Regions from separate parts of the Homo sapiens genome. Here all the other regions are linked to region 3. Evidence: promoter capture Hi-C in 16 types of primary human blood cells and fetal thymus (Javierre and others, 2016). All regions are on one chromosome and are shown on one strand. The core of a region is centred on a gene start or on the middle of the fragment in contact, and the rest is flanking DNA. Distances in the headings are between cores, read along the strand shown. Region 1 overlaps RXYLT1 (ribitol xylosyltransferase 1). Region 2 overlaps SRGAP1 (SLIT-ROBO Rho GTPase activating protein 1). Region 3 holds the start of XPOT (exportin for tRNA). Region 4 overlaps LEMD3 (LEM domain containing 3).

Region 1 (5,553 bases), core at 1,666-4,165, 600 kb after region 3:
AATTGGCAAAAATTCCCCATAACCCAATCTCTTAGGTAGCAAGAAGTATACAGAAGAGGTTTAAAATGTGATTTCTAAATCTCAAATTGTAATTTTCCATGAATACTTTGGAAAACTCCCTGAATCTACTGACTTAAAAAAATTGAATTTCACACTGACATCTCTTACAAAAGTGTTACAGAGATGTTGTGCCTAAAGTTATTTGTTTTTGACATTCTTTAACTTGCATTACTCATCTGCAGCTGTTAGGCATGTTACATTCAAAACCTTCAAAGTATAAAGACTCTTCTCTATTCATAATGATCACGATTTAAGCAACATTTTAACCAGGTGATGAAAAGATTACAGAATACTCCAGGGGAGGGAGATGGATGGGGAAAAGGAAGATGTTGATCGAAGGGTATGAAGTTTCAGTTGGACAGGAGGAATAAGCTTTAGTGATCTATCACACAGAATAGGGTGACTATAATAAATAATAATGCACTGTATATTTCAAAATTGCTAAAACAGCAGATGTTATGTTTTTACCACAAAAATTGTTAAGTATATAAGGTTACGGATTTGTTAGTCTGATTTAAGCATTCTACGTTGTAAATATATTTCAAAACATCATTTGTACCCCATTATCATATACCATTACTATTTGTCAATTAAAAAAAAGGAAAGATTATATATTTTGCTATTGCAAAGGGCTCTGAAAAATTAATCCCAAGGGCTTTTCAAGTAGATTAAAACAAACTGACAGATAAAACCATGGTATGCCATACAGGAAAAGTTACCTATTTTTATGAGCATTTGGAAATACCAGGGATTAAACTGTGTACCTGAAATGTAACTTTCACACGAGAACAAAATTTTACCTAACAGTTTGTATATAACAGGGTTTCTTAGCCTCAGCATTACTGACATTTTGGGTTAATTTTTTCTTGTGGAGGCTGTCCTATACATTGTGGGGTGTTCAGCTGTATCCCTGGGCTCTATCTGCTAGATACCAGTTGTGACAACCTCTTTCCTCCAGTTGTGACAATCAAAAACGTCTCCAGGCCAGGCACAGTGGCTCATGCCTATAATCTCAGCACTGTGGGAGTCCAAGGCAGGCAGATCACTTGAGGTCAGGAATTTGAGACCAGCCTGGCCAACATGGCGAAACCCCCTCTCTATAAAAAATACAAAATTAGCCAGGAGTGGTGATGCCCACCTGTAATCCCAGCTACTTGGGAGGCTGAGGCAGGAGAATGGCTAGAACCTGGGAGGCAGAGGTTGCAGAGAGCCAAGATCGTGCCACTGAACTCCAGCTGGGGTGACAGAGCAAGACTTCGTCTCAAAAAAAAAAAAAAAAAAAAGTCTCCAGACACTGCCAAATGCCTCCCGGTGGGCAAAATTGCCCCTGGTTGAGAACCACAGACCTATATAAGAAATATACTGGCCTAGTGCAACAACATCATGATTACCAAGAGGTTCCATCTTATACTATATGAAAACATTTTACAAATGCAGGCTCTGCTCAAAAAATAGATTTTTAAGAGGGTCTTAAACCTGGCTTTACTTAACAAGAACCTTTTTGTCTGGCCTTACCCCAAACCTACTGAGTTAGGGTGTTATAGGAGTAGGCTTGGGAATACATCTCATTACTGGCACAGATGTGCCAGTGACATCTGTGTCGCTAACTAGGCAGCAGTCTAAGGCCACATCCCGCAACCAGGGACAGAATGATGAATAATGAATGTATGATTCAAAAATCATGTCAGTGAGATTTTTCATAATTTATCCACTCAACAAATACAGAATACCTACTCTGCAGGTGCTGTTTTAGGCTCTGTGGATAGAACAGTGAACAAAAGAGACAAAAATCCCTGCTCTCAGGAGGTTTATATACTAGTGGCAACTTATCTTAAAGTCAACTTGCTCTTAATTAAAAACATCCTATTAACAGAAAGATAAAAATATATGTTTTCCATTTTATAGCTGGAGAAAGACTATATCTTTTTTTTTTTTTTTTTTTTTTTTTTTTTTGGTGAGACAGTCTCATCTCACTCTGTTGCCCAGGCTAGAGTGCAGTGGTACAATCTCAGCTCAATCTCCTGGGCTTAAGTGATCCTCCCACCTCAACCTCATGAGTAGCTAGGACTAGAGGCGCCATACAGGAGTCCATGTCACCATGCCCGGATAATTTTTGATTTTTTTTTTTTTTAGAGATAGGGTTTTGCCATGTTGCCCAGGATGCTCTTGAACTCCTGGACTCGAGCAATCTGCCTAGTTGGCCTCCCAAAGTGCTGGGATTACAGGCAGTAAGCCACTGCGCCTGGCCTAAAAGACTGTATCTTGAGAAACCTTAGCTATCATTTAATTAATCCCTCCTTTTATAGAAGAGATTTGTATAAATTCAGCCAGTCTCAAACACAATGGTACGGTATATTCCTGATATAATAATATTGCCTTTTTTTACTATATATAGATACTATCATTGTTTTTAAAAAAATCTATCTGCCATTTCTCTGCTAAATATATTTTTATGGCACTCCTAATAAGCTTGAAAAATCCATTCTATGCCTTGGGGTTTTAAAAGAAAAAAAGTAACTCATCTCCTCATTAAAGAATAAAATACTCTTAAAAACATCATAATTGTTATTGAAGGATGCGACCACACCCTGTTTTTATCTCTGAGAAAGACTGTACCTGGCCTCAATAATCCCAGAAGAACTAAATTTATTACAATTTTGAATAAGTCTTCCTGGTTCAGAAATTCAGGTGTTAGGGCCTAAAAATGTTTAATCATATTTTGTACTTACGTTGCTACTCCTAAAGGCCACTGAAAAACATCCACGTCATTAATCCAGGGGCTGTCATATATTATGAAAAGCAGCTCCACGAAGCCTCCATTTCTTTTGAGGAATGGGTTTATCCACTCATTATCACAATGTTCATTTCCGAGCAAAACAACAGCAAGATGCTGGAGTTTTTGAATTTGCACTAAATTTTGTGCATAAAGTAACCACTGGGTGGCATAAAAGATCTTTGCTTTTTCTCTTCCATTTAAAATGAGTACCACATTATTCACATCAACGGAGAAGTACCCTGGTATTACAGCTGGACCAGTGATGAAGCTGTTAAAAACAACACAACAAAAACAAGAGACAAACAAAGCCTGAACAAAGGTATGTGGTATCAGAAATTCATCATTTTATACAAAATCTACAATGAGATTTAATCCACATTCTATCTAGAAGTAAAATTTCTATAATACAATCTTTTGAACAAGTTTGAATGATGGGGCATAGCTGTAGATTAATGGTAAGCTTTGGCTGTAGGCAGATCAATTTGCATATGATAATACAAAATGTGATAGTTTTGTGTTTTTTTGTTTTTTTTTTGAGGCAGGGTCTCAACTCTTGTGGCCCAGGCTGGAGTGCAGTGGTGCAATCTTGGCTCACTGCAGCCTCAACTTCCCTGGCTCAGGTGATCCTCCCACCTCAGCCTCCCGAGTAGCTGGGACTACGGGTGTGCACCACTACACACAGGTAATTTTTCGTATTTTTTTGTAGAGATGGGGTTTCACCATGTTGCCCATGCTGGTCTTGAACTCCTTGGCTGAAGCAATCCACCTACCTCAGTCTCCCAAAGTACTGGGATTACAGGCATGAACCACCATGCCTGACCTTTTTTTCTGTTGTTGTTTTAACCACACTGAAAATAAATGCTGGCTAGAATTTAAACTCTTAAGCAAAGAAATATAATTGAATAGCATGGAACTCTGTAAAATAATGGTTTAGTTCAAACCAGAAAGGCATTTAAAGTCAGTAGTTCTCAACCCTTTTATGGTGTGAGCTGCTATTACACTCTTCATCTGACTCAATGGATGAGAAAGTGCTGACAAATTAAGAAACGAAGAATGGCATTATAAACATTCCATGAATGTTATATCTCAAAAATATAATGTTAAAAAAAGCAAGGATTAGGACACTCACAAAATATACATAAACTTGAAAGTACAGTCATAAAAATTATTTACACATATATATTTAGGATCAGTATAAATATAAAAATTTGAATGGGAGGATCCACATCAAATTTATGATAGCAATTGTATCTGAGGAGGAAGGAAGATGAAAGGGACTAGAAAACAGTACAAAGGGAGCTTTACCCTTATTGAAAGTATTTAATTTTTTTAACAGGAAAATTAAATATCTGAAGCAAATATGACAGAGAGCTGAAATTTGTTAGTTTTGAATGGTGAGTAAATGGGAATGTGTTGTATTACCATTTTTTTTTTTTTTGAGACAGAGTCTCAGTCTGTTGCTCAGGCTGGAGTGCTGTGGCATGATCTCAGCTCACAGCAGCCTCTGCCTCCTGGGTTCAAGCAATTCTTGTGCCTCAGCTCCTGAGTAGCTGGGACTGCAGGTGCGTGCCACCATGCCCAACTAATTTTTGTATTTTTAGTAGAGACAGGGTTTTTGCCATGTTGGCCAGGCTGGTCTTGAACTCCTGACCTCAAGTGATTCACCTGCCTTGGCCTTCCAACGTGCTGGGATTACAGGTATGAGCCACTGTGCTCAGCCTACTCTCTTTTTAACTGTATTTTTAAAAAGTTTTCATTAAAGGAATAGACATGTATCATAACTCATTTTTTTCATATTAAGTGCTGCCTAGAACAACCAGTACCATTGAAATATTTTCACTAGTATGTATTAAATAGAACAAGTACCATTTAATTCATCTTAAAATTAGTCACTCTTATCCTAGATTCTTTACAACTTGCTTAAACCATTTCTTTATATCCTGATAGAATCTAATTTTCAGCACAAATATACCCAAAGCCTACTTTCATTGCTTCTTACTGCTGGGGATAAAAACATTTGTTCAACGCCTTTTATATACATGATACATAAGCACTTTGCATGGGTCATCATTAACCCCCCCAACAACTCTGAGGAGTTCATTATTCTCTCATTGGCATTTGTGAAATTGCACTTTAGCTGTCAGCTTGTAATGGCAATGACGAGTTCTCAACAAAGTTCTGTCTCACTTCAGAGCTTAAGTTTTTCCATAACTCCATGGTTAACAAATACTAAACAGATATTAGTTAAAGCACAAAACGTAAAAATATATTTTACTATGTGTGCATGTACCATATGATTTATATGACATTATTCTAAAATTATATAACATACAGGGACCAGGACTATGTTTTGAGGACTATGTTTGCCTTGGACAGTATCTAGCACTGGCAATGACTAATGATTCAGTGATAACCTAGTAATTTAAGACAATATGCAGAATCTGAGGGGCTAGAAAAACTAGCAATGATGATGATAATTATGGTATGTTTAAAATATTTATTATTGGTAGCATACGAATACTTTGTATTTCTCTTTTAGAAATATAAGCAGGTATAATTCTTAAGAGCATGAGAAAGTCTTCCAGTCCTCCTTCCCCATGTTAGGCCAATTTTATGAAGGAAAAAAAAGGAAATCTTGAGAGAGGTTCTATGACTTGCATAAAGCTAGCTGACACTAGATAGGAAATGGTACAGATCAGACTCAAATTTGGTTATTT
Region 2 (5,163 bases), core at 738-3,237, 550 kb after region 3:
TGTATTTTTAGTAGAGATGGCGTTTCGCCATGTTGGCCAGGCTGATCTCAAATTCCTGACCTCAGGTGATCCACCTGCCTCAGCTTCCCAAAGTGCTGGGATTACAGGCATGAGCCACCAAGCCCAGCCTAGAGGATCTTTTTAAAAGTGAAAACACAAGCTACAGACTGGGAGCAGATATTTGCAACAGATATAACTGGCAAGAGACTAACATCACGAACATACTAAAACAAAACAAAACTCACAAATCAATAAGATATACACACCTACTGTGTACCCACAAAAATTAAAAATAAAAAGGAAGAGAAAATAATTCTGGCTGGGCATGGTGGCTCACGCCTGTAATCCCAGCACTTTGGAAGGCCAAGGAGGGCAATCACTTGAGCCCAGGAGTTCAAGACCAGCCTGGGCAACATGGTGGAACTCCGTCTCTACTAAAAAATACAAAAATCAGCCGGGTGTGGTGGTGCACGCCTGTAGTCCCTACTTGGGAAGCTGAGGCATGAGAATTGCCTGAACTTGGGAGGTGGAGGTTGCAGTGAGCCATAGAGATGGTGCCACTGCACCCTAGCCTGGCTGATAGAGTGAGACTCTCCCTCAAAAAAAAAAAAAAAAAAAAAAAAAAAAAAAACACCATTTTTCATGTTGACTGCTGCTTGTTCACCAAAATCTCTTCTTTCATGCTGTGACCATCAAGTTATAATTAGAAACAGGGCCATCCAGAGAGACTATATTTCCCAGCTTCCCTTGCAGCAAGATGTGGCCATGTAACTAAGTTCCCACTGGTTAAGTAAGTGGAAATTATGTGTACTAGTAAGGGCTGGGTTTGAAAACCGTGGACATGTGCTCCTTAAGGCTGATTTTCCTTCCTACAAGCTGAAACACTGAAATACTTAAAATCTGGTTTCAAAGAGTAGACAAGTTCATTTATCTAGGTAATGGCAGAACCACAAGATGGAAGGAAACTTAATAATGGGGCAAAGATGTCCTGCTGGCCTGGATTGGACATCTCCAGTCTGTTACCCGAGAAAGAAAAAAATCTCTCTAGTTTAAAGTCACTGTTTGGGGGGTTCTCTTTATTATAACAGCTTAGCCTCTTCTTTAACTAGCACATTGCTCAATGCTAAGTGTTTTTCAGGCTGTGGAACTCTCCTCCCCTGCTAATAAGAGAAAGGTTTGACATTACCTGGTAAAGATGAACATGCACATTCCCAGTGACCCAGCAAGTACACCTAGAGAAACTCTTCTTGTACGTATACATCAGGAGACACCTACAGCATTTTATACACTATTACTATTCATGATAGCAAAAAAACTATAAATAATTCAAATGTCATATAGAATGAATCAATAGCTTGTAGTATTTTTTATGCACTGGAATATTATGCACCAGAGAAAGCACACAGTGTGGCAGTGAAATTATAGTTGCATACATTAAGGTAGATTAATCTTAACATAATAATATTGAGTATAAAATTGAAGTCATAAGAATACATATTATTAATTTTTTATTAGGGAAAATTTCAAGCATATGCAAAAATAAAGAGAATAATATAATTAACCTCGTGCACCCACGGATTATCAATTCATTTTGTATTTTATCTGTATCCCTACGTATTTCTTCCCTCCCCAAGATTACTTTCAAGAAAATCCCAGATGTCCTAATTTCATCCATTATTACTCAGCATGTATCTTTAAAAGATAAAGATTTGTTATACATGCCAAAACACTACTATTCCAATTTTTAAAATTTACACCAATTCATCAATATTATTAAAAATTCAGAAAGTGTTCAAATGGCCCTATATTCTTGATATATGAATGCATCCTAATCAAAACTATAAAGAAAGCTACAAAATGACAGTAAAGCTTTACAGAAAACAAAGGAATTATTAATACTAAGAGTGGCAGTGGGAATGAAGGGAGATTTGCTAGGAAAGGGACATTCCATGGGGGTTTCTAAGGCACTGGTAATGTTTCTTTCTTAACCTGGGTGGCTAGCACTGAAGTATTCAAAGCTACTATTCTTTAAACTGTAAATAATCATTTTCTGTACCTGTTTGTATGTATATTTCACAAAGCAAGCAAGCAAAGAAGCAAGCTTGCTCTCCCAAACACACATGCCAACTAAGCTCAAAGCAAGGAAAAACCAAAGTATATAAATGAGTTGTAAACAAATGAGAAATTTGGTTGTCCCATGGACAAATCTGATTATCAGAGGTTCAATCCAGAGGCTAAGCTTTGCTTGGATTTACCTTGCCCACTCCTGTACTCAAGGAGGGTGGAGTTGAAAGTCAGATTCTTACATTTAGCCTGAAAATTTACCAAAGGCCAGGTATACTGTGGCCCAAAGACACAGAAAGTACTAACTATACTAAATAGGAAAGTTAAGCAGAAATTCCTCCTCCCGTGCATTGCAGCTTGTTTTGCACATACACAACTCAGTGTATCCCTCATGGTGCCCATGCAAAGCAATGGTGACTGGCTCACTGTAGGTGCTCAATACTGTTAGCTCTGGTTATGATTATCTTTAATTATTATTTCACCTTCCATTTTACAGTCTTTCTTCAATTATTATAAAAACAATTAACCACATCATAAAATGTTCTTCAAAAACCAGTGGTAAAGACTGCATAACATTGCATGTATACAGTTAGTTAACAATTTACCAGTGGAATTTAGTTAACCATTCCCCACTGTTGGACATTTAGAATGTTTCCAGCTGAGTGACTTTCTAAAGAAATTATAAACCATTTGAATTCAACTTAAAATTTTGTGGTAATAGGCCGGGTGCGGTGGCTCACACCTGTAATCCCAGCACTTTGGGAGGCCGAGGTGGGTGGATCACCTGATGTCAGGAGTTCGAGACCAGCCTGGCCAACATGGTGAAACCCCGTGTCTCCTAAAAATACAAAAAATTAGCCGGGCATGGTGGCGGGTGCCTGTACTCCCAGCTACTCATGAGTCTGAGGCAGGAGAATTGCTTGAACCCAGGAAACGGAGGTTGCAGTGAGCCAAGATCTTGCCATTGCACTCCAGCCTGGGCAACAAGAGTGAAACTCCATCTCAAAAAAAAAAAAAATTTTGCGGTAATACTTGTTTGGACATCCTAGATAATTCTGAATGATCACCATGCTTATTTGCAGTATAAAGGAATTATTATTCCAAATTATTCCTCTTCTCATGTAATAAATGTTTAATGAGGCCCTGTACTAAAGCGTGTGGGAGATGCACAGACAATGATTTCTAATATCAAAGTGCTTTCTAGTGAAACAGAAGCAAATTAGCAGTCATAAGTGGAATTTTCATTCCTACATTGATTTTAAAAGAAAATACTTTTCTCAAGACTATGAGATTAAGGCAGTGACTTTATCTGATGTCATAAGAATCTTTTTCACCCACAGGTAAGTCAAATCCACTGACTGAACTACAGTTTTCATTTTCCATACAGCATCACTGAACAGAGGTAGAGACAATTTAAAACAAAAGTTATTCTTAAATACGTGGCAGCCCAGGGCCAGGAATGTGCTTTTAGGCTTTGTTACTTGCACTTGCATGAAAAATAATGACAAAATATAAAATCCACCTTATAATGAGCTGGGAATCTGTATGCATTGTCTATTCTATTTCCCTTTTAAATTCCACCATGAAACCCACTCCACTCTAAAAGCACATGGCACTCTCTTAGGATAATTCAAGATTAGTCCACTTTGGAATTCATTCTGGTAAAAAGACTAGTGATTACGTATTTGAATTTCAAAAAACCTATCTAAATCAGAATGCAACAAGATACAGCAGATAGAACAACATGCTGGGCGAGGTGGCTCATGCCTGTAATCCCAGCACTTTGGGAGGCCCAAGGCTCAAGCAGGTGGATCACTTGAGTTTGGGAGTTTGAAACCAGCCTGGGCAACATGGCCAAAACCCGTCTCTACAAAAAATACAAAAATCAGGCGTGATGGCAGGCGCCTATAGTCCCAGCTACACAGGAGGCTGAGGTGGCAGGATCACCTGAGCCTGGGGAGGTTGAGGCTGCAGTGAGCTGAGCCGAGATTGGGCCACTGTGCTCCAGCCTGAGCAACAGAGCGAGACCCTGTCTCAAAAATAAATAAATAAATACAGTAGATAGAAAGAAAACCAGCATTAAAGAGATAACAATGACTAACATTTGTTGACTATTATGTGCCAAGCCTGTGATAAATGTTTTCCTCACTGCAATCTCACAAAGACAACAAGGAGGCCAGATGCAGTGGCTCACACCTGTAATCCCAGCACTTGGGGAAGCTGAGGCAGGTGGATTGCTTGAGGTCAGGAGTTCGAGACCAGCCTGGCCAACACAGTAAAACTCTGTCTCTACCAAAAATACAAAAAAATTAGCTGGGCATGGGGGTGCATGCCTGTAATCCTAGCTACTTGGGAGGCTGATGTGGGAGGATCACTTGAACCTGAGAGTCCCGCCACTGCACTCCAGCCTGGGTGACAGAGCAAGACTCGGTCTAAAAAAAAAAAAAAAGAAAGAAAGAAAGAAAAGAAGACAACAAGGTAAGTACTACTATTATCCCTATTTTACAGATGAAGAAATTGACTCTTAGAGATCACACAACTAATCAGTGACAAGGCTAGACTGCTAACACCGAAGTTCCTGGTTTTTTATTATTTATTTATTTTTTAAAAATTAGAGATGGTGTCTCGCCATGTTGACCAGGCTGGTCTCGAACTCCTGGTCTCAAATGATCCTTCCATCTCTGCCTCCCAAAGTGCTGAGATTACAGGTGTGAGCCACCGTGCTTGGCCCAGAGTTCCTGGTTTTAAATACCATGTTCTGTTTCTTCCCAGTCTAACATATCAACAGGGGAGAGTAGATAATGCTGTCAATAAATTAGAAAGTAGTTCTGAGCTGACAAAATTACCTTTACATAACTGTCTCTAAACCAAACTTCTTTTTTTCTGAGATGGAGTCTCGCTCTGTGGCCCAGGCTGGAGTGCAGTGGCACAATCTCAGCTCACTGCAACCTCTGCCTTCTGGGTTCAAGTGATTCTTGTGCCTCAGCCTCCAGAGTAGCTGGGATTATAGATACATGCTACCACACCCGGCTAATTTTTGTGTTTTTAGTAGAGACGAGATTTCACCATGTTGCCAAGGCTGGTCTCAAACTCCTGGGC
Region 3 (5,448 bases), core at 649-3,148:
AGCCTGACCAACACGGTGAAACGCCGTCTCTACTAAAAATACAAAAATTAGCTGGGCATGGTGGCCTGCGCCTGTAATCCCAGCTACCCAGGAGGCTGAGGCAGAAGACTCGCATGAACCCGGGAGGGGGAGGTTGCAGTGAGCGGAGATCGTGTCATTGCACTCCCGCCTGGGCGACAGAGTGAGACACTGTGTCAAAAAAAAGAAAAAGTGCTTAAGCTTGGTCAAGTCACTCTGAAGCTATCGGGAGAAAAATGAAGTGGCCCTAAGGAAAACATAGCCAATAAACCCAAGGAAACAAACTAGTTAACAGTTGTCACTACAGAAAGAATCCCCCACATAGAAGGCATTTGGACGATCAATATGCAGTGGAAGGCCGGGCGCGGTGGCTCACGCCTGTAATCCCAGCACTTTGGGAGGCTGAGGCGGGCGGATCGCGAGGTCAAGAGATCGAGACCATCCTGGCTAACACGGTGAAACTCCATCTCTACGAAAAATACAAAAAGTAGCCAGGTGTGGCGGGGCGCACCTGTAATAGAGCTACTCGGGAGGCTGAGGCTGCAGAATCACTTGAACCTGGGAGGCAGAGGTTGCAGTGAGCCGAGATGGCACCACTGCACTGCAGCCTGGGCGACCGAGCGAGACTCCGTCTCAAAACAACAACAACAAAACCCCAAAAAATGTTTCAATACGGTAAACAATTATGCATCTTGCAAAGGTTCTTGGGGGAAGGCAAGCAACATACTTAAAATATTAAGCCTTAACTTTTCCTGGATAGCCATTAAGAATCAAACAATTTGGAAAAATTCCTCTACACCTACTGAAGACTGTTTCAAATACTACGACTGAATCTTTCCAGCCTTTTAACACCACGCTGACAAGTCGGTTTAATAAAACGTAACTCTCCCCCAACCCCCGCCCGCCACAACTAATTAGCACTTTCAAAAAGTACTCGTTTTTCTGGTTACAGGGAAACCTCATGCTTCTCTAGTCCTGCAGGATGGTGAGGAAGGTTTGAGAAGAAATGGAGCGTCCGTGCTGGCCAATTACTGCACAGAAATAACACTTTTCCTTTTTGTCCAGGGGTGGGGGAAGAATCAAGTTTGAGGTCTCCACAGTTGATAACGCTACAACGATGACTAACGGGCTTCGGAACCACAGGCGATGCCGACCCTCCTCTGCTAGCCTTGCTCCCATCCCTCCCCCGATCCCTCCCCTAAAGGAAGCCTCGTGGCAATTCGGGTGATGAAACACCAAGCAACCGCCGGCCACGCACTCGGGACGCGCTCCTCGGCGGCGGCCCCGGCTCGTACCCACCCCCACCCGGTCCGCCCAGCCAGGGGGTGCACCGCCATAGAGGGTCCCAAGCCTGCACCCTCCCTGGCGTCGGGACTCCCCCGGGCCGGTCCGCCCCGGCCAACTTCCTCGAAGCCTCACGCGGACCAAACCTGGTCCCGGTCCCGCTGCCCCCGAGCCCCGAGTCACCTTCCCTATCACTCCATCCCGCCTCCCAGCCTGCACTCCAGATGGTCAGCCAGCGGAGCGGAGCGGCGCGGCACGCAGAGAGCTGGGAGAGCGGCCCTCGTCCTTGTCGCCGTAGTCCTCCGCCACGGCCGCAGCTACAACGCCAGAGACGGTGCTGGCCGGGACCGCGCGCCTCTAGTCGCTCTGCGTCCCCTGGCACCTTCTCTTGCGTGGCGCCGGGCAGGCAGGCAGGCAGGCAAGCAAGCAAGCAAGCAAGCGGGCGGGGTCGGCGCCCCAGGAAGGGAAAGAGCGCGAGGGCCGGCTAACGCCGCCGCCGCCGCCGCAGCCGCCGCCGCCGCTGAGTCAGCGCGAAGCGCGCTCCCCGCGTCGGTGCCGCGCGGGCGGGCGCCGGCGCCAGCAGTCTCTTGGAGAGTGCGGGCGGCAGCCCGCGGGCTGACGCCGGAGGCCTACAACTCCCAGCATGCAGGGAGCGGCCGGCGCTTCCGGGCGGCGAGGCGCACACGCGCTCCCTGGCGCTCGCCGGAAGGCGTGGTCACCGGGGCTTGAGGTGCATGCCGGGATGAGGCATCCGGCCCAGGAGTCCCTACCCAGCTCCTAAATCCCCGGCTGTGTCTGCGTGGTGTCAGAGCTCAAGCGTCAGGTTCGCCCCGAGCATTCCACAAAGGGCTTCTAGTAGTTGAGAGTACGGATTCACGAATCAGGATGACGTGGTTCTAACCACGTGTGAGTCAATTTAATTGCTTGTCTACGGCCCCAAGTGTCCCGAGTACAGCAGTGTAAAGCTCTGATGAGTGCTGACAGGTTTTCAAAATTAATTAATTAATTTATTTATTTATTCTTTGAGACGGAGTCTCGCTCTGTCGCCCAGGATGGGGTGCAATGGCGAGATCTTGGCTCACTGCAACCTCCGCCTCCGGGGTTCAAGCAGTTCTCCTGCATCAGCCTCCTGAGTAGCTGGGATGACAGGCGCGCGCCACCATACCCAGCTAATTTTTGTATTTTTCGTAGAGACAGGGTTGCACCATGTTGGACAGGCTGATCTCGAACTCCTGACCTCAAGTGATCACCTGCCTCGGCCTCCCAAAGTACTGGGATTACAGGCGTGAGCCACGGTGTCCGGTCCAAAATTTATTTTAAACAGACTAAAATTTTGTCCATGAAAAGAAGGAGAGCATTCTTAGGAAGTCCTACTCACGGGATCTTTCGATGCTACTAAATGTCACTTCATTTATTTGGTCACAGATTTATTAATTTATTAATGCAACATAGAGGCAGTGTAGGCTTAGGCTGCCTCGACTTGACTGCCACTCCGCCTCCTCACTAGTTGACCTCAGGCACTTTACTTTAGTCTATCCATGCTTCAGTTTACTCGTATGTAAAATGGGGATTGTTAATAGTACCGACCTCAAAGGGTTTCTGTGAGGTTTGAGTTAATACATGTGTTTGACACACAATGTGCTCAATATTTACATTTCATTGTTGATTATTCAATGTGTACTAAATACAGACTAGGTTGCTGCCACAGACTACAAACAAAACTTGGAGAGGGAGGAATGGTAAGAGCATAGAATAAAACTAATGTTTTAACAGCTACCTTTATTTAGCTGTCCAAGACACTACACCAGGCATTTCCTATATAAAATACCTTGAATCACTCTTGCATCATGTTTCTAATTTATGTGTTTAAAATGTCAGGCTAGTGGCTACAAGATGTCGCTAAAGGAGAACTGGGTTTTAATTTTTTCTTGTTTTTAGAGAAAGGGTCTCGCTCTGTTACCCAGTCTGGAGTAGAGTGGTCATAGCTCACTGCAGCCTTGACCTCCTGGGCTCAAGCAATCCTCCTGCCTCAGCCGCCCAAGGAGCTGGGACTACGGGTGCATACCATCATACCTGGCTATTTTTGTTTGTTTTTGTAGAGATGGGGACTTGCTCTGTTGCCCAGGCTGATCTCTAACTCCCAGGCTCAAATGAACCTCCCACCTCAGCTTCCCAAAGTGTTGGAATTACGAGTGTGAGTCCCTGTGTCAGGCCTTAATTTTCTTCACGCTGCTCTCAGTTGGCTTCCCAACGAAATAGGTTCTTTGTTGTTCTGGCATACAAATTTTCTTTTGATTGTAATCCTTGCATGCATTATGTTTCTACTATTCAAATTATTAATTATTCAAATTAATTATAAACAAGAAGTATCTCTTGTTTTACTTCTGAGAAAACCAAAGTCATGGTATTCTCAAGACTAGAGATAATTCAACAAAGCCTGTGAATCTCCCTCATTTGGAATCTCTCTGGGCCCAATCTGTTTTCCACTGCTAGGGCGCTGCTGCTAAAGCTATATCATATGAAACCACCCTCCCTAAAAGCTCAGGGACCATCTCCAAATAGGAGGGCGAGTGAAACTGTAAGAGCTGGATTGATGGGTGGAATCTGGAAGCTAAAGTAACTCCATCTTTGGTACTAATCTGCCATGTTGGTTTCTGATTAACCCTGTTCCCGGAAGGCCTTTAAGATTTCAAGTTGTGTGAGAGCACATACTGTAAATTCTGCCCTTACGTCAAAACAGCCTTGATGTTATTGTACTTCAGTTGTCTACACATCCTGACGTGGTTTGGCTGTGTCTCCACCCAAATCTCATCTTGAATTGTAATTCCCATAATCCCCTCATGTCATGGGCGGGATCAGGTGGAGATAATTGAATCATGGGGTTGGTTTCCCCCACCCTGTTCTCGTAATAGTGAGTTTTCATGAGATCTGATGGTTTTATAAGGGGCTTCCCCCTTTGCTGGGCACTCATTCTTCTCTCCCCTGCCACCATGTGAAGAATGATGTGTTTGCTTCCCCTTCTGCCATGATTGTAAGTTTCCTGAGGCCTCCTCAGCCCTGAGGTACTGTGAGTCAATTAAATCTCTTTCCTTTATAAATTACCCAGTCCCAGGCATTCCTTTATAGCAGTGTGAGAACAGACATAATACACATCCCTTCTGAATTACATATACCCTTTCCATATGGGGGTTAATGGTGAGGGGATCCACCATCTTGTTTCACTGCTGCTGGAGACACAGGCATGGCTTTTTTCACAAGTTGCTATGAATGTTATTTCTAAGAAAAAAAATCTCAGGCTAGGATTTCTGCCCTACCTATTTCAGTATATCTTTCGAGTCTAGCACAGTGCCAGCCTGCTAGTTTCAACTCAATAACTGAATCATTGCATGAATTCTTATATTAGCTGTGATGATCAACTGTGGAGTATGAAGGCCCAATACTAATCTTGGGCTGAGTGCCTCTGCAATCTGTATGTTCAGCATATTCCAGGCCTCATCCTAAAGAATATGGCAATTCAATCTATCGTATTATAGATGTCTTTACTTGCTGTTTTGTTTGTAAATTCATTTTATGGCTACTTCTTATGTTGAATGTTATACAAAGCCTATCTTCAGTTTATCTACAGTTTATCTACTAACATTAGCTCTTTCGTTTATGGTAGTTGAAATACCTAGAATTGTAGAAATCTCTTTCAACTTTGTAAACTCATATTATTTCAGAACAAATAAAGAGGCTAGGCGCGGTGGCTCATGCCTGTAATCCCGGCACTTTGGGAGGCTGAGGCAGATGGATCACAAGGTCAAGAGATCGAGACCAGCCTGGCCAACACAGTAAAATCACGTCTCTACTAAAAATACAAAAAAAAAATTAGCCGGGCATGGTGGCACATGCCTGTAGTCCCAGTTACTTGGGAAGCTGAGGCAGGAGAATTGCATGAACCTGGGAGGTTGCAGTGAGCCGAGATTGCGCCACTGCACTCCAGCTTGGGCAACACAGTGAGACTCCATCTCAAAAAAAAAAAGCCGGGTGTGGTGATGCATGCCTGTAATCCCAGCACCTTGGGAGGCCGAGATGGGTGGTTCAGGAGGTCAGGAGTTCAAGACCAGCTTGGCCAACATAGTGAAACCCTGCCTCTACTAAAAATAC
Region 4 (5,772 bases), core at 1,327-3,826, 780 kb before region 3:
AATTTCATTATGTGCTTCGTATGACTTATCTAAGAGACTGAAGATCCTAATGTACTTTAAATACCTTCTAATTTAAGTACTATTAATATTCACCTATTGCCTATTCATGGGGACACATGTCATCTTCCCACTTTGATAATAACAGTACTCATGGTATCTTACAAACTAGCTGAAGAACGGCATGTGACAAGCCACCTTTCTGTATCAACTGTATGCATTGTCTGTTCTTCACACAGTATTAACAGAAGCTTACTCCAAGACCCATCCTCATTCTTAAAAAATGTTTTTCCGTCTCAAATTCAGTACTACATTTTGGATTAAAGCAATGTAACCCATTTACACTGACTTTCCTATCAGCAAATCTACCTTTTAGTGATCAGCAAGGCTACAATCCAGTTTCAAGTTGTGTCATCACCTGTTTAATATAGCTGCAAAAAAAAACCACATTATTTTTCAGTCCTGGAGATAAGGAAGGCACTAATTATGTAACGTGAAAAGATAACTCCCTTTTATCTGCTCAGACAGCTTGAAAGGTTTAAATACTGATAAGGACTATAAATTTAGCCAACTCTATTACTTATTAACATTACTGACAGGACATGTCATAATGCTGAACATGTGTTGCTTAAACTACTATAGCTGTTAAGTCCTATCTTATAATATTAAAATTACAGTTATATATCACTCCAAATTTCTCCAAAGCATTTCTACAGACATTATCACAGCAGTTCCCTACAAAAATCACTGGCTGGAAGTAAAGTTGATTTTACTATACCCTCATTTAACAGACACAAAAAGCAAGGCCCAGAGGTTGTGTTTATCTTGCTTGCCCAAATAAAGCCTGTAGCTAACGATAAGATAAAGTATAAAAAAATTCTACTGCTGCCTGGTAGTTAATACTGTGAACTCTAAAGTTAGATCTTGGGTTCAAATGCTGGCTCCAACACCTAGTAGCTGTGGGACCTTGGACAAATCACTTGTAACCTTATTCCCTCTATCTTTCCGTTTTCTCACAGACATAGTATGAGTAGTTACCCTCATGAAAATTAAAATAAAATGCTCACACACATTGAAAATTCTCAATAAATGTTTGCTCTTCTCACCTAAGGCTTTAAAATCTGAAAGACGGGACATTTAGAGATGAAATTAAAAAAAAAAAACAAAACACTTCTGTCAAAAGGATAAGAATATTTCTAGAACATCTTGAACCATAATCATAAATGTTCAGATTTTATAACATTTTCATTTTTGGCAAATTCATTCTTCATGTCTCTTCCTTTTTTAAAAATTACTCCTAAAAACCTGCAAAAAATAAAACCTACATTTATTAAAATTGTGTGGTTTTTAAAGGTAGAATTCCCAATTGAGAAAATGGTAATACAGAAAAGGTGAAAGGAATGATCAACACACATTACTTCAATTAGCCAACTATTTCTTTTGTGTATATATACACTGTGATAAGCTTTACCAGATGGTATACTCAAATTTACAGAAACTAATTTTTAAAGTATGTTTCCCAAGTCACAATATATAAATCTGATACACTGTTGCATGGTAACAAAATCCCAATTCTGAAGGCTAGCTAGTGCAGAAATATTTAGGAAAAAGAAGAGAATGCCAGCCAAAGCGTGGGGAGAGTGTCACTCCTATAGTTCTAAAAGGTATGATATATACTTATCTTCTGCCATTACCTGGTACATAGTATAGGTGCTCAATAAATAATCTGGGTGAATGCGTGACTGAATGAATAAATGAGTAGGAGAAACTTAATGTTTCTTCAAATGAACTAAATCAAACAAGAAAGCATTTGTGATCCCATGGGAGATACACTTATAAACTAAGGAAGTCCTTAATAAGGCTGACCAAGGTTCCAAGCCATAGCTCAGAGGCTAGAAGAAGTAGATATCCCAAGATTCCCCTCACCTCCTAATTAATTTCAACAATCCTCTTCATATGCTTTGAAAATTTTACCTTGGTGAATTCCTACAGAGCAAAAGCATCCTTTGTAAGTACAGCATGCTTTCAGGAATTAGCCATAGTCAGAAAATTGTGTGTGTGTGTGTGTGTGTTTGTGTACATACTCAGATATATATGAGCTAACTGAGAAACAAAATTAATTTTCTGCTATGTGCTAAAATATCCATTTGCTACTAAAGGGTTTTTTCTATTCATGTCATATTCAGGGCAGAACAGCAATTGGTGCATACTTACTACCCAATTAGTTCAGGAGAGCTGAACTACACTCTTGCATAGTTTTACAACCAAGCCTTGTTTTTAAACTTTAGCTTGCCATTTGATAGTAACATAGCTGTAAAGATGAATTCAGAAGTCATCTTGCAAAAGCATTTTAAGTAAAAAGCTGTGCAAAAGCACAGAGCAATAAATCTAGCACCCAGGAAAAATTCAGTGGTATAATTTTAAACTATACCTTGACATAAAAGAAAATGAAGACATATGAAAAGTAATTCATGATGGCTTCCATATGATAGATGCATTATTCTATTTTTAGAGATTACCTCTGTTACTATAACTTTTATAACCTTTTTGAAGAGCTAATTTCCTAAGAAATATATTTTTTAAATAATGATATTAAACATGCAAAATAAATTATTAAAACCTAACTTATTTTCTTCCTGGTAAACTCTTGTTTAAAAAAATTTTGGCAATATTGTTAATAAAGAATATTATTAACTATATATATAATATATAATATATAAACTGATGCAGTTTAAAGCATAGATTATTAAAACAGTGAAATCCAAAGGTTACTGCTCAACTATACTGTTACTGGTTCACTTTAAAATCTATGTTAGGGCAGGGCACGGTGGCGCACACCTGTAACCCCAGCACTTTGAGAGGCCGAGGCAGGTGGATTACCTGAGGTCAGGAGTTTAAGACCAGCCTGGCCAACATGGTGAAACCTCATCTCTACTAAAAAATACAAAAATTAGCCGGGCGTGGTGCCATGTGCCTGTAATCCCAGATACTTGGGAGGTGGAGGCAGGAAAATCACTTGAACCTAGGAGATGGAGGCTGCAGTGAGCCGATATTGCACCACTGCACTCCAGCCTGGGCGAGAGAACAAGATCCTGTCTCCAAAAAAATAAAAAATAAATAAAATCTATGTTAAAAATAAATCTAAATATGAAAATCAAAATCCAAAGTTATAAGCAAATAACTGTTATAACAATTTCCACAATTAGTATTAAGCTATGTTCCCATATTAAATGGCAGCAATTTTTAATGTATAATCAATACAAGATTAAAATACATCTTTTTTAAAATGTTATTTTAAGTTCTGGGATACATGTGCAGGATGTGCAGGTTTGTTACATAGGTAAACGCGTGCCATGGCAGTTTGCTGCACCTATCAACCCATCACCTAGGTATTAAGCCCAGCATGCATTAGCTATTTTTCCTGATATTCTCCCCACCCCTAGAATATATCTTCATTCGAATTTAGATTATATCATTAGTAATAAAATTTTCACAAACAAGTTAGTAGTACTTATTTATTAACAAATACATTTTGGAGAGTTCCAACAGTTTAAGGTGTCCTTCTCTTTTAAACAACTTACAAACTATATAATTATCTTTGCACTGAGGCTATAAATTTCCATTTATATAACATATTTTTCAGATAGGGAAAGTTAATATTGAATAATCAATGAGCAAGGAGAAGCAAGCTTTAAGAACTTCCCAACTCTTAGGAATCATGAAAATAATTTTTCATGATTATTTTAGTGTCCCTGAAATTATCAAATGCATCATTTCCATTAAAACATATATGAGTATAAAGGGAAAATATGAAGTTTATTCAAAAGGAGCAAAAAAGGGAGATCAAATGTATGAAAAGTTCTTTATATCCTAAAAATGAACAACAGAAAGAACAAGTTGTAATTGGTAATACAAATCAAAAGATCACTTTCCCTACCAGTTTTGAGACTGCAAATATTTTAAAAATTAGAAATAGTTTTAATATTGTATTATTGTTCTATGTATTATATATTATAGTTTGCTTCATAGCAGATGCCCCCTCCCCCTTAATTAATCTAAAACCTTAAGGATAAATAGTTCCATGTGATTCATAATTGTTGAATGAATACAACTTTTCCTAAAGTTGTTAGGTTTCATAGATTATTCCTGCCACTTCTAGGATTTTATGAATCTATACTTGTCACAGTTTTCTGAAAATAAAGACAATAATAGTAGAGAACATATATCAAGTCCTTATTTATACATATTAAAAGGCAATCTAGAAGAACAGTTAAGAGCCACTGTCTGAGTTCAAATACTGCCGCTTCACTTACTAGCTACATGACCCTGGGCGAGTTACTTCTCAGTGTCTCCATTTACTTATAAAATGGGATAAGTACCTACCTCATAAGGATTAAATAATAATTGTTTAGCTCAGTGCCTGGAACACAGTTAATGCTACGTAAGGGTTAGTTATTATTATTACTATGTGCCATGTATGAGTTTTACTTTACACACATTACTTCATTCTCATTTAACCTATTTTTCATATGAGGATATTGAGGTTTACAATGGCTAAGCAACTTGCCTTAGTGAAAAAAAGCTAGTAAGTGGAAGGGCCAATATTGAAGCCCAGGTTCTCTGATAGCTATGCCAGTGTATCCTCAAACTAGTCTCCGTGGATATATCTGTAGAGATTCACAAGTTTTTCCTCATTATTTTTAATTTAAATCATTCTAGGGAAAATTTTCAAATGAAAAACATTTTCATAGAGTAGACTTTAATTTCTGAAATCATCAAACTGGTATATGCAAATCCCTGGCATTCACGGGAATATTCTCATAGATCTAGGATTTTTTTTTTTTTCTTACAAAGCAGTCAACTCGTAAAACTTCAAACATAACATGGAGCTTTCATTCTTCAAGAATGAGAGAATAGGCCGGCTGCTATGGCTGACACCTGTAATCTCAGCACTTTGGGAGGCGAAGGTGACAGGATCGCTTGAGCCCAGGAGTTCAAGACCAGCCTGGACAACAAAGTGAGATCCTGTCTCAACAAAAAATACAAAAAATTTGCCAGATGTGGTGATGCAGATCTATAGTCCCAGCTACTCAGGAGGCTGAGCTGTGAGGATTGCTTGAGTCCTGGGAGGTTGAGGCTGCAGTAAGCCATGATCACACCACTGCAATCCAACCTGGGTGACACAGCAAGACCCTGTCTCATATTGAAAAAAAAAAAAAAAGAATGAGAGCAACAGCTATTTTTCAAAATCCTTATTCCCCATATTCATTTTAGATACCAAGTTCGGGACCTTTTGGCTAGTCTACTTTAAGAAGTAAAAATATTTTTTAAACGACAATGACATTAAAACATGTTACTTCTTTGTAACAACTGGTCTTGATTTTAAAGAAAACAACAACACATTAAAAAAACAAACATTTAAAAGTATTCCCTTAGTAAACAGTACTAGTACTCACATTCAGCACCAGTCTCTCATCTTTACTCCAATTCTGTATCTACAAGAGCCTACAAGAATTTTTCACTTGAACAACTCAAATAATAAGCCCCAAGTAAACTCATTTTCCCTAGACCACTTTTCCCCAAACAAGATCCCTCTTCCACATCTCTAATTCCTCCAATGATATTATCATTCTCTCAGTCATCCAGGCTCATGGCCAGAATAATCTTTGACTCCTATCTGTCTCTTATTCTCTATACTCAAAACCATATGTCTTTCTTCAAATGAATTTCATTCATAGGCCCAACTCCATTCCCACTTATCCACCTCCTTCAGGT

What was found. Contacts are between HindIII fragments. The CHiCAGO score rates a contact against its expected background, and 5 or more counts as called.
Region 1: a contact is called between a fragment that was not itself captured here and the fragment with the promoter of XPOT in region 3, in 12 of 17 cell types (monocytes, naive CD8 T cells, activated CD4 T cells and 9 more). The highest score is 7.3, in monocytes.
Region 2: a contact is called between a fragment that was not itself captured here and the fragment with the promoter of XPOT in region 3, in 3 of 17 cell types (naive CD8 T cells, megakaryocytes and non-activated CD4 T cells). The highest score is 7.1, in naive CD8 T cells.
Region 4: a contact is called between a fragment that was not itself captured here and the fragment with the promoter of XPOT in region 3, in 1 of 17 cell types (total CD4 T cells). The highest score is 5.0, in total CD4 T cells.

Annotation. Positions count from the first base shown.
Region 1 is chr12:63,799,642-63,805,194 of GRCh38, reverse strand. RXYLT1 (ribitol xylosyltransferase 1) reads right to left here. Exons shown (of 6, transcript NM_014254.3): 4 at 2,790-3,104. Among named protein-coding and RNA genes, the nearest start is that of RXYLT1-AS1, 20 kb to the left of the region's middle. The HindIII fragment of the contact is 767 bases long and covers 2,532-3,298 here.
Region 2 is chr12:63,850,942-63,856,104 of GRCh38, reverse strand. The region is part of intron 1 of SRGAP1 (SLIT-ROBO Rho GTPase activating protein 1); the gene reads right to left. Among named protein-coding and RNA genes, the nearest start is that of SRGAP1, 8.8 kb to the right of the region's middle. The HindIII fragment of the contact is 232 bases long and covers 1,872-2,103 here.
Region 3 is chr12:64,400,842-64,406,289 of GRCh38, reverse strand. XPOT (exportin for tRNA) reads right to left here and starts at 1,898. Exons shown (of 25, transcript NM_007235.6): 1 at 1,486-1,898. RefSeq lists enhancers at 300-1,176, 2,274-2,323 and silencers at 1,284-1,393, 1,724-1,883. The HindIII fragment of the contact is 10,073 bases long and covers 222-5,448 here.
Region 4 is chr12:65,177,287-65,183,058 of GRCh38, reverse strand. All of the region lies in intron 1 of LEMD3 (LEM domain containing 3), which reads right to left. Among named protein-coding and RNA genes, the nearest start is that of LEMD3, 11 kb to the right of the region's middle. The HindIII fragment of the contact is 2,224 bases long and covers 1,465-3,688 here.